Linked DNA regions of Homo sapiens: region 1 is linked to region 2. Evidence: promoter capture Hi-C in 16 types of primary human blood cells and fetal thymus (Javierre and others, 2016). All regions are on one chromosome and are shown on one strand. The core of a region is centred on a gene start or on the middle of the fragment in contact, and the rest is flanking DNA. Distances in the headings are between cores, read along the strand shown.

The links. Contacts are between HindIII fragments. The CHiCAGO score rates a contact against its expected background, and 5 or more counts as called.
Region 1: the fragment with the promoter of ATL3 here is called in contact with a fragment that was not itself captured in region 2 in 1 of 17 cell types (total B cells); the score reaches 5.2 in total B cells.

What each region holds. Positions count from the first base shown.
Region 1 is chr11:63,669,996-63,673,749 of GRCh38, reverse strand. ATL3 (atlastin GTPase 3) reads left to right here and starts at 2,374. Exons shown (of 13, transcript NM_015459.5): 1 at 2,374-2,460. The coding sequence starts at 2,415. RefSeq lists enhancers at 1,858-1,967, 2,008-2,507, 2,508-3,009 and silencers at 2,058-2,177, 2,498-2,557, 2,588-2,847. The HindIII fragment of the contact is 2,416 bases long and covers 573-2,988 here.
Region 2 is chr11:64,160,437-64,163,802 of GRCh38, reverse strand. The region is part of intron 1 of MACROD1 (mono-ADP ribosylhydrolase 1); the gene reads left to right. Among named protein-coding and RNA genes, the nearest start is that of MACROD1, 4.0 kb to the left of the region's middle. The HindIII fragment of the contact is 3,366 bases long and covers 271-3,366 here.

The DNA of each region.
Region 1 (3,754 bases), core at 1,125-3,624, 490 kb after region 2:
AACAATTTTGCTATTTTTGTGTTTCATAAACCACTTGAGTATCTTGAATATTTATGACTTTATTTTGCTTTTCCAGAATGAATATGCTGATTACTAATTTTGATCACTAACCACGCAGTCATCATTTCCAAACACACAGCTCACTTAGCCTAGAACAACCGTGTGGGTCTTTAAATCATTTTGCAGATGATGAAATGGATTCAGAGAGGTTAAGTAGCTCGCCCAAGGTTGCATAGCTAGTGAACATCAGAGCCAGGTAAGTCTGACCCCAAAGCCAGTAGTCTGTCCACTCAAATATGTCTACATGTCACCTACTTCTGGAAAACCTCAAGGGAAGCTCAACCTCTGATCATAGCACATAACTCAATTCAGAGTGAGATAGCTGAAGGCAGGCTGTAACCAGTATTGTCAATATTTGGCACTTTCAATGTCCAGTGTTTTGATGACCCTGGATATTTGAGAAGGAAATAACACAAAACATGTTTCTCATTTACAGGGGTTGCTTTCTAAGTTGTGACTAATCCTTAAGTCCACCTATAATTTGTACTGTTTTGTTCCAAATGCCAAAAGCTTCTACAAGGGCTACAATGCTGATGTGCTAACATTGACCTTGATACCTTGATGATGTAATATTGAGACATATATCAGTATTTGCTGGTCACTTCCTGAGAAGTTGGATTTCAGTGAATCTCTGGGGAGCCCTTAAAATAAACTAGGGTATTTTGTTCAATAGTAAAAGTTAGGTATTTAATATTAAAGGAACCAGAAAGTGAGTGAGCAGTGTTAGATGTAACATATATCTTCTTCATCCATTAATTCAATAGATATTTGAGTCTCTATTATCTGCCAGCAGTATTTAGGGACTGGGGATATACAAGTAAACAAAACAGACAAAAATTCCTATCTGTTTGGAACTTACATTCAGTGGGAAGAGACAAACACAATGAAAGGTAAAACATAAGTCAGATAGTAGCAGGAAGTCTTTTTTTTTTTTTTTTTTTTTGAGATGGAGTCTTGCTCTTTCTCCCAGGCTGGAGTGCAGTGGTGCCATCTCCACTCAATGCAACCTCTCCTGCCTCAGCCTCCCGAGTAGCTGGGATTACAGGCGCCTGCCACCACGCCTGGTTAATTTTTTGTATTTTTAGAAGAGATGGGGTTTCACCATGTTAGCCTGGCTGGTCTTGAACTCCCGACCTCAGGTGATCCAACCACCTCAGCCTCCCAAAGTGCTGGGATTACAGGCGTGAGCCACCGCGCCTGGCCAAGTGGTATGAAGTCTTTTGGAGAAAAGTAATGCAGGGAAAAGGAGCAGAGAATGCTGGGATGTGCGTGCAAGTTTTTTTTTTTTTTTTTTGATGGAGTTTTGCTCCTGTTGCCTACGCTGGTGTGCAATGGTGCGATCTCGGCTCACTGCAACCTCCGCCTCCTGGGTTCAAGCGATTCTCCTGTTCAGCCTCTGGACTAGCTGGGATTACAAGCGTGCGCCACTACGCCTGGCTAATTTCGTATTTTTAGTAGAGACGGGGATTCTCCATGTTGGTCAGGCTGGTCTCGAACGCCCACGACCTCAGGTGATCCACCCGCCTCGGCCTCCCAAAGTGCTGGGATTACAGGCGTGAGGCACGGCGCCCGGCCTGGACTTCTTACATTAGCTATCAGAGCGGTGATGGTGCGCATCAGCCATGGCCAGGGACAGGAATATAGGGAGATGATAATAAAGGTGGTAATGAAGTCACGGCCACCTGCCCTTATGAAGTCAAAATCATTAAAGACCCAGTGACGTTCATGCCATCCAGGGTTGAGGCCTCTCTTCTGCCCACCTGTGGTCCCAGGCCTAGTTAAACACCAAAGCTGTCTCTCACACTGGTGGTTCCAGGATAAAGCCTCGGCCTGGGGCCTGGTCTGCACGTTAGGCGCCGGCCGCAGCTCGCAGGAGGACCCGAGCCAGCCCGCCCCTTCCCGCACAGCCTGCTGGGAGTTGTAGTTCAGTCGTCGGAGAACCACGCCAAGCCCCGCCCCAGATGAGTGCGCAGTATGAGGACCGCTGGCCGGGACCCAGTGAGCGCGGGACTACAATTCCCAAAGGACGGTAGCACTCAGCGCCCCGCCAACAGGTACCCGGCGGCTCGCTTCGCGCACACGCGGCAGGCGGTGGCGGGATTCTGCCGCGTGCGCTTTCCCGCCCCGCCTCGCCTAGCCTCGTCCTGCGCTCGCCACGCCTCGGGCTGTCCGTTGGGCCACGCAGACCGCGCTGCGCTCGCTCCGTCGCGGCTCCGCGTGCCCCACCTTCTGGCTAGTTTTTTCTAGAGCCCAGGCTCCGCCCGTTTCCCGCTTCCAGGGCCCGGTTCGTTCCCGCCCGCACCCGTCCCTCTCCTCTGCACCCCTGCTGCTTCTGCTTTGAAGGCGGAGGCTCCATGTTGTCCCCTCAGCGAGTGGCAGCAGCTGCCTCAAGAGGAGCAGGTGAGGCGCCGATTTTCCCTGGATCGCCCCGCGGCCACCCCCGCCGCCTTCCCTGCTGTAGTTCTGAAAAGAACCCCCGCCCGCGCCGCCGCCCTTCCTCGTCCCGGGGCTGGGACCGCGCGTCCCTCGCCGGGGTCACTCGGTTTCCGAATTTGTGGTGGGGGGGCCCCTCTTCGGGCCCAGCTGGTCCAGCGAGGGCGGCACCTTCCTTACTTTTCGGCCGGGGGCGGCCGCCGTCAGGGCTCGGGCCCTGGTGCCGCCGGGGGCTCCTCCAGCTCCTCCCCTGGGCTGCAGCTGCCCCTGGGCGGCCCAAGGGCCGGTGGTCCCCGTGGGCGGCGTCCGGAGCTTCGGCCCCGCCGAGCCCCGCCCTGGGCAGAGCCGGGCGCCCCAGGGCGCTGCCCCTCCGTGCCCGGGCACTCAGCGCCCTCTCTGGTCGGAGAATCGGGGCCTGGATGGAGCGGGAAGGTGAATGCTGGTTTATTTGGCCTTTCTGGAAGTGCTGGAAGGCTGCGAAGTGTCTTGGAAGCTTTATTTTTATCCTAACGACCTTGAGGCACTGACCACAAGTATTAGGAAAGTTGGTTTTCAACCCATACTTAACGCTGTAAAGAATTGGTCTAAATTGGTTTTTCGTAAGTTAGTGCTTTTGGCACAGTACGTTGTTCTTTTGCTTTCCCGAAGACATGAAACATAGTGAAAGTATTAAAAACCAAATAAGGAGTCACCGTGTATTCACGGATCTGATTTAGTCTGTCATTTTACTTGGCTTTATTCTAGTGTAATGTGTGTGCTGTTGAAATGACCGTTTCACTTGCGAAATCGAAGAGCAAAAAGGAAAAGAACAGTGAAGAATTTTTAAATGAGTCTCAGTTCTCAAATTCAAATACGAAGCAATGGAACGTTTTGTCAGTCTTAGAATAACGGACCAAAAATGTACGATTTCACATATTGGCTTACTTTTGGAGATTTAAGAAGCATAACCTACGGAGTACTAATCCCTGTCAAGAATTTAGCATTGCAACATAGGTACTGAAATTCAAATTAGTGCTTTTTTTTTTCCATTCCCACAGAGATTAGCTTGTACTCCAGAAATTCCTGTTGCCGCTCTAACACCTGTAAACACTTGGCTGAGAAGGATCTCAGTATTGCAGTAGTCCAGCACATTGTTTTATTATTATTTTTTGAGACGGAGTTTTGCTCTGGTCACCCAGGCTGGAGTGCAATGGCGCGATCTCGGCTGATTGCAACCTCCGCTTCCTGGGTTCAAGCAATTCTTCTGCCTCATCCTCCCGGG
Region 2 (3,366 bases), core at 704-3,203:
AACACCCCGAACCTTAGTGGCGTAAAACAGCAAACCTGCATTCTCTCCATCTCTTGAGGGTCAGGAAACTGAGAGAAGCTTAGCTGGGTGGTTCTAGCTCAGGGTCTCCCTCCCTCTGAGGCCGGGTGGGACTTGGTTAGGGCTGGAGGATGGGCTTCCTAAACAGCTCCCTCCCATAAAATGGCATTTGGTGAGAGGCCTCGGTTGGTCACTTTGGGGCCTCTCCATGGGGCTGCTTGAGTGCCTCACATGGGATAGATGTCCTAAGCTTTTCCCCCAGAGCATATGCTCCACGAGAGGGATCGTGAGGAGACCCCGATGGAGCTGCAGTGCCTTCTTTGTGACCTCGTCTTCGAAGTCTCTCCTGCTTTATTCTAGGGGTCAGAATCGAGTCAGGGAGTCTGGCCATACTCCAGGAGAGGGAAATTAGGCTCTACCTCTTGAAAGAAAGAATCTCAAAGAATTTGAAGGTGTGTTTTTATTTTCTTAAAAAAATTTTTTTTTGAGACAGTTTCACTCTTTTTGTCCAGGCTGGAGTGCAGTGGTGTGATGTCACTGCAACCTCTGCTTCCCGGGTTCAAGTGATTCTCCTGCCTCAGCCTCCTGAGTAGCTGGGATTACAGGCACCCACCACTATACCCGGCTAATTTTTGTTTGTTTGTTTGTTTGTTTGTTTGTTTTTTAGATGAAGACTTATTCTGTTGCCCAGGCTGGAGTGCAGTGGTGTGATCTCAGCTCACTGCAACCTCCGCCTCCGGGGTTCAAGTGATTTTCCTGCCTCAGCCTCCCCAGTAGCTGGGATTACAGACGCGTGCCATCACGCCCGGCTAATTTTTTTGTGTTTTTGGTGGAGATAGGATTTCATCGTGTTAGTCAGGATGGTCTTGATCTCCGGACCTCGTGATCTGCCCGTCTCGGCCTCCCGGAGTGCTGGGGTTACAGGCGTGAGTCACTGGGCCTGGCCAATTTTCTTAAATTTTTTTTTTTTGAGATGGAGTCTTGCTCTGTCACCCAGGCTGGAGTGCAGTGGCGCGACCTTGGTTCATTGCAAGCTCCTCCTCCTGGGTTCATGCCATTCTCCTGCCTCAGCCTCCCGAATAGCTGGGATTACAGGTGCCCGTCACCATGCCCAGATAATTTTTTGTATTCTTTAGTAGAGACAGGGTTTCACTGTGTTAGCCAGGATGGTCTCAATCTCCTGACCTCGTGATCTGCCCGCCTCAGCCTCCCAAAGTGCTGGGATTACAGTCGTGAGCCACTGTGGCCGGCCAAAATTTTTAAAATTAATTTAAATTTTTTTCGAGACAGGGTCTCGCTCAGTTGCTCAGGCTGAAGTGCAGTGGTGTAATCATAGCTAGCTGCACCCTTAAACTGCTGGGCTCAGCGATCCTCCTGCCTCAGCCACCTGAGTAGTTGGAAGTACAGGCGCGCATCACCATGTGCAACTAATTTTTTTTTTTCTTTTGAGACAAGGTCTGTTGCCCACGCTGGAGTGCAGTTGTGAGATCTCAGCTCACTGCTTCCTCAACCTCCTGGGCTCAAGCGATCCTCCCACCTCAGTCTCCCAAGTAGCTGGAACTACAGGCATACGCCACCACGCCTAGCTAATTTTTTGTATTTTTTTGTAGAGACAGAATTTTGACATGTTGCCCAGGCTGTTCTCAAACTCCTAAGCTCAAGCGATCTACCCACCTCGGCCTCCCAAAGTGCTGAGGTTACAGGTGTGAGCCATGGGCTGCTAATGTTTTAAAACCTTTATTGTAGAGACTGGGTTTCACCATGTTGCCCAGGCTGGTCTCAAACTCCTAAGCTCAAGCGATCTACCCACCTCGGCCTCCCAAAGTGCTGAGGTTACAGGTGTGAGCCATGGGCTGCTAATGTTTTAAAACCTTTATTGTAGAGACTGGGTTTCACCATGTTGCCCAGGCTGGTCTCAAACTCCTAAGCTCAAGCGATCTACCCACCTCGGCCTCCCAAAGTGCTGAGGTTACAGGTGTGAGCCATGGGCTGCTAATGTTTTAAAACCTTTATTGTAGAGACTGGGTTTCACCATGTTACCCAGGCTGGTCTCAAACTCCTGGCCTCAAGCAATCCGCCCACCGCAGCCTCCCAAAATGCTGGCATGACAGGTGTGAGCCACTGTGCCTGGCCAAGTGTATTTTTTAAGCCATCACATTATGGGAGATCTGGGGGGCTGCCCCAGCTGGACTCTGCCTTTGATTAGGGTCTGAGCCGTGGCCCTTGAAGACTGCTACACTTTTCATCGTTACATTCAAATCACACTTTCAGCCAAGTTACATTTGACAGTCAAGTGCTGCAAGTGTAGAGATCTTCAGTGCACAGTGTATGCAACTGTGCAGTCACTACTTGGGTCAAAAGGTAGAGCATTGCCATCACGCCAGAAGTCGCCTCTTTTCACTTGGTACTGTCTGGAGCTAATCACTCTTGTGATATCTGTTCATTTTGTCTCTTCTTGAAGTCTGGCCCCTTTTACTCAATATCCGGCCAGTTCGTCCTTGTTATTGGATGTGGCAATGGTTCCCTCTTTTTCATTGCTGTATAGTGTTCCAGCATATGAACGTACCACAGCTTGTTTCCCACTCTTTTGTTGTTTTGTTTGGTTTTGTTTTTTGAGATGGAGTCTTGCTCTGTCGCCCAGGCTGGAGTGTAGTGGCACGATCCTGGCTAACTGCAACCTCCGTTTCTTGGGTTCAAGCGATTCTCCTGCCTCAGCCTCCAGAGTTGCTGGGATTACAGGCACCCGCCACCACGCCTGGCTAATTTTTGTATTTTAGTAGAGACGGAGTTTCACCATGTTGGCCAGGCTGGTCTCAAAATACTGACCTCAGGTGGTCTACCTGTCTCGGCCTCCCAAAGTGCTGGGATTACAAGTGTGAGCCACCATCCCGGCCCCCACTCTTTTGTTGATAGGCATTTGGGTTTCTTGTGAATAAAACTGTGCTGAACATTTTTTTTTTTTTTTTTTTTAGATATGGTCTCATTCTGTTGCCCAGGCTGGAGTGCAGTGGTGCAATCACAGCTCACTGCAGCCTCCAACTTCTGGGCTCAAACCATCCTCCCACCTCAGCCTCCTGAGTAGCTGGGACTATAGGCATGTGCCACCATGCCTGGCTAATGTTTTTAAAAATGTCTTGCAGAGACAGGGTCTCATTATGTTGCCCCAGGCTGGTCTCGAACTCCTGGGCTCAAGTGATCCTCCCACCTCCGCCTGCAAAAGTGCTAGCGCTGAGATTACAGATGTGTGCCACTGTGCCTGGCTTCCTGAACATTCTCTCCATGTCTCTGATGGACATGTGCTCTCATTTCAGGGCTGTACCTAGATAGGCCTCCAAATACTTGTCTGCC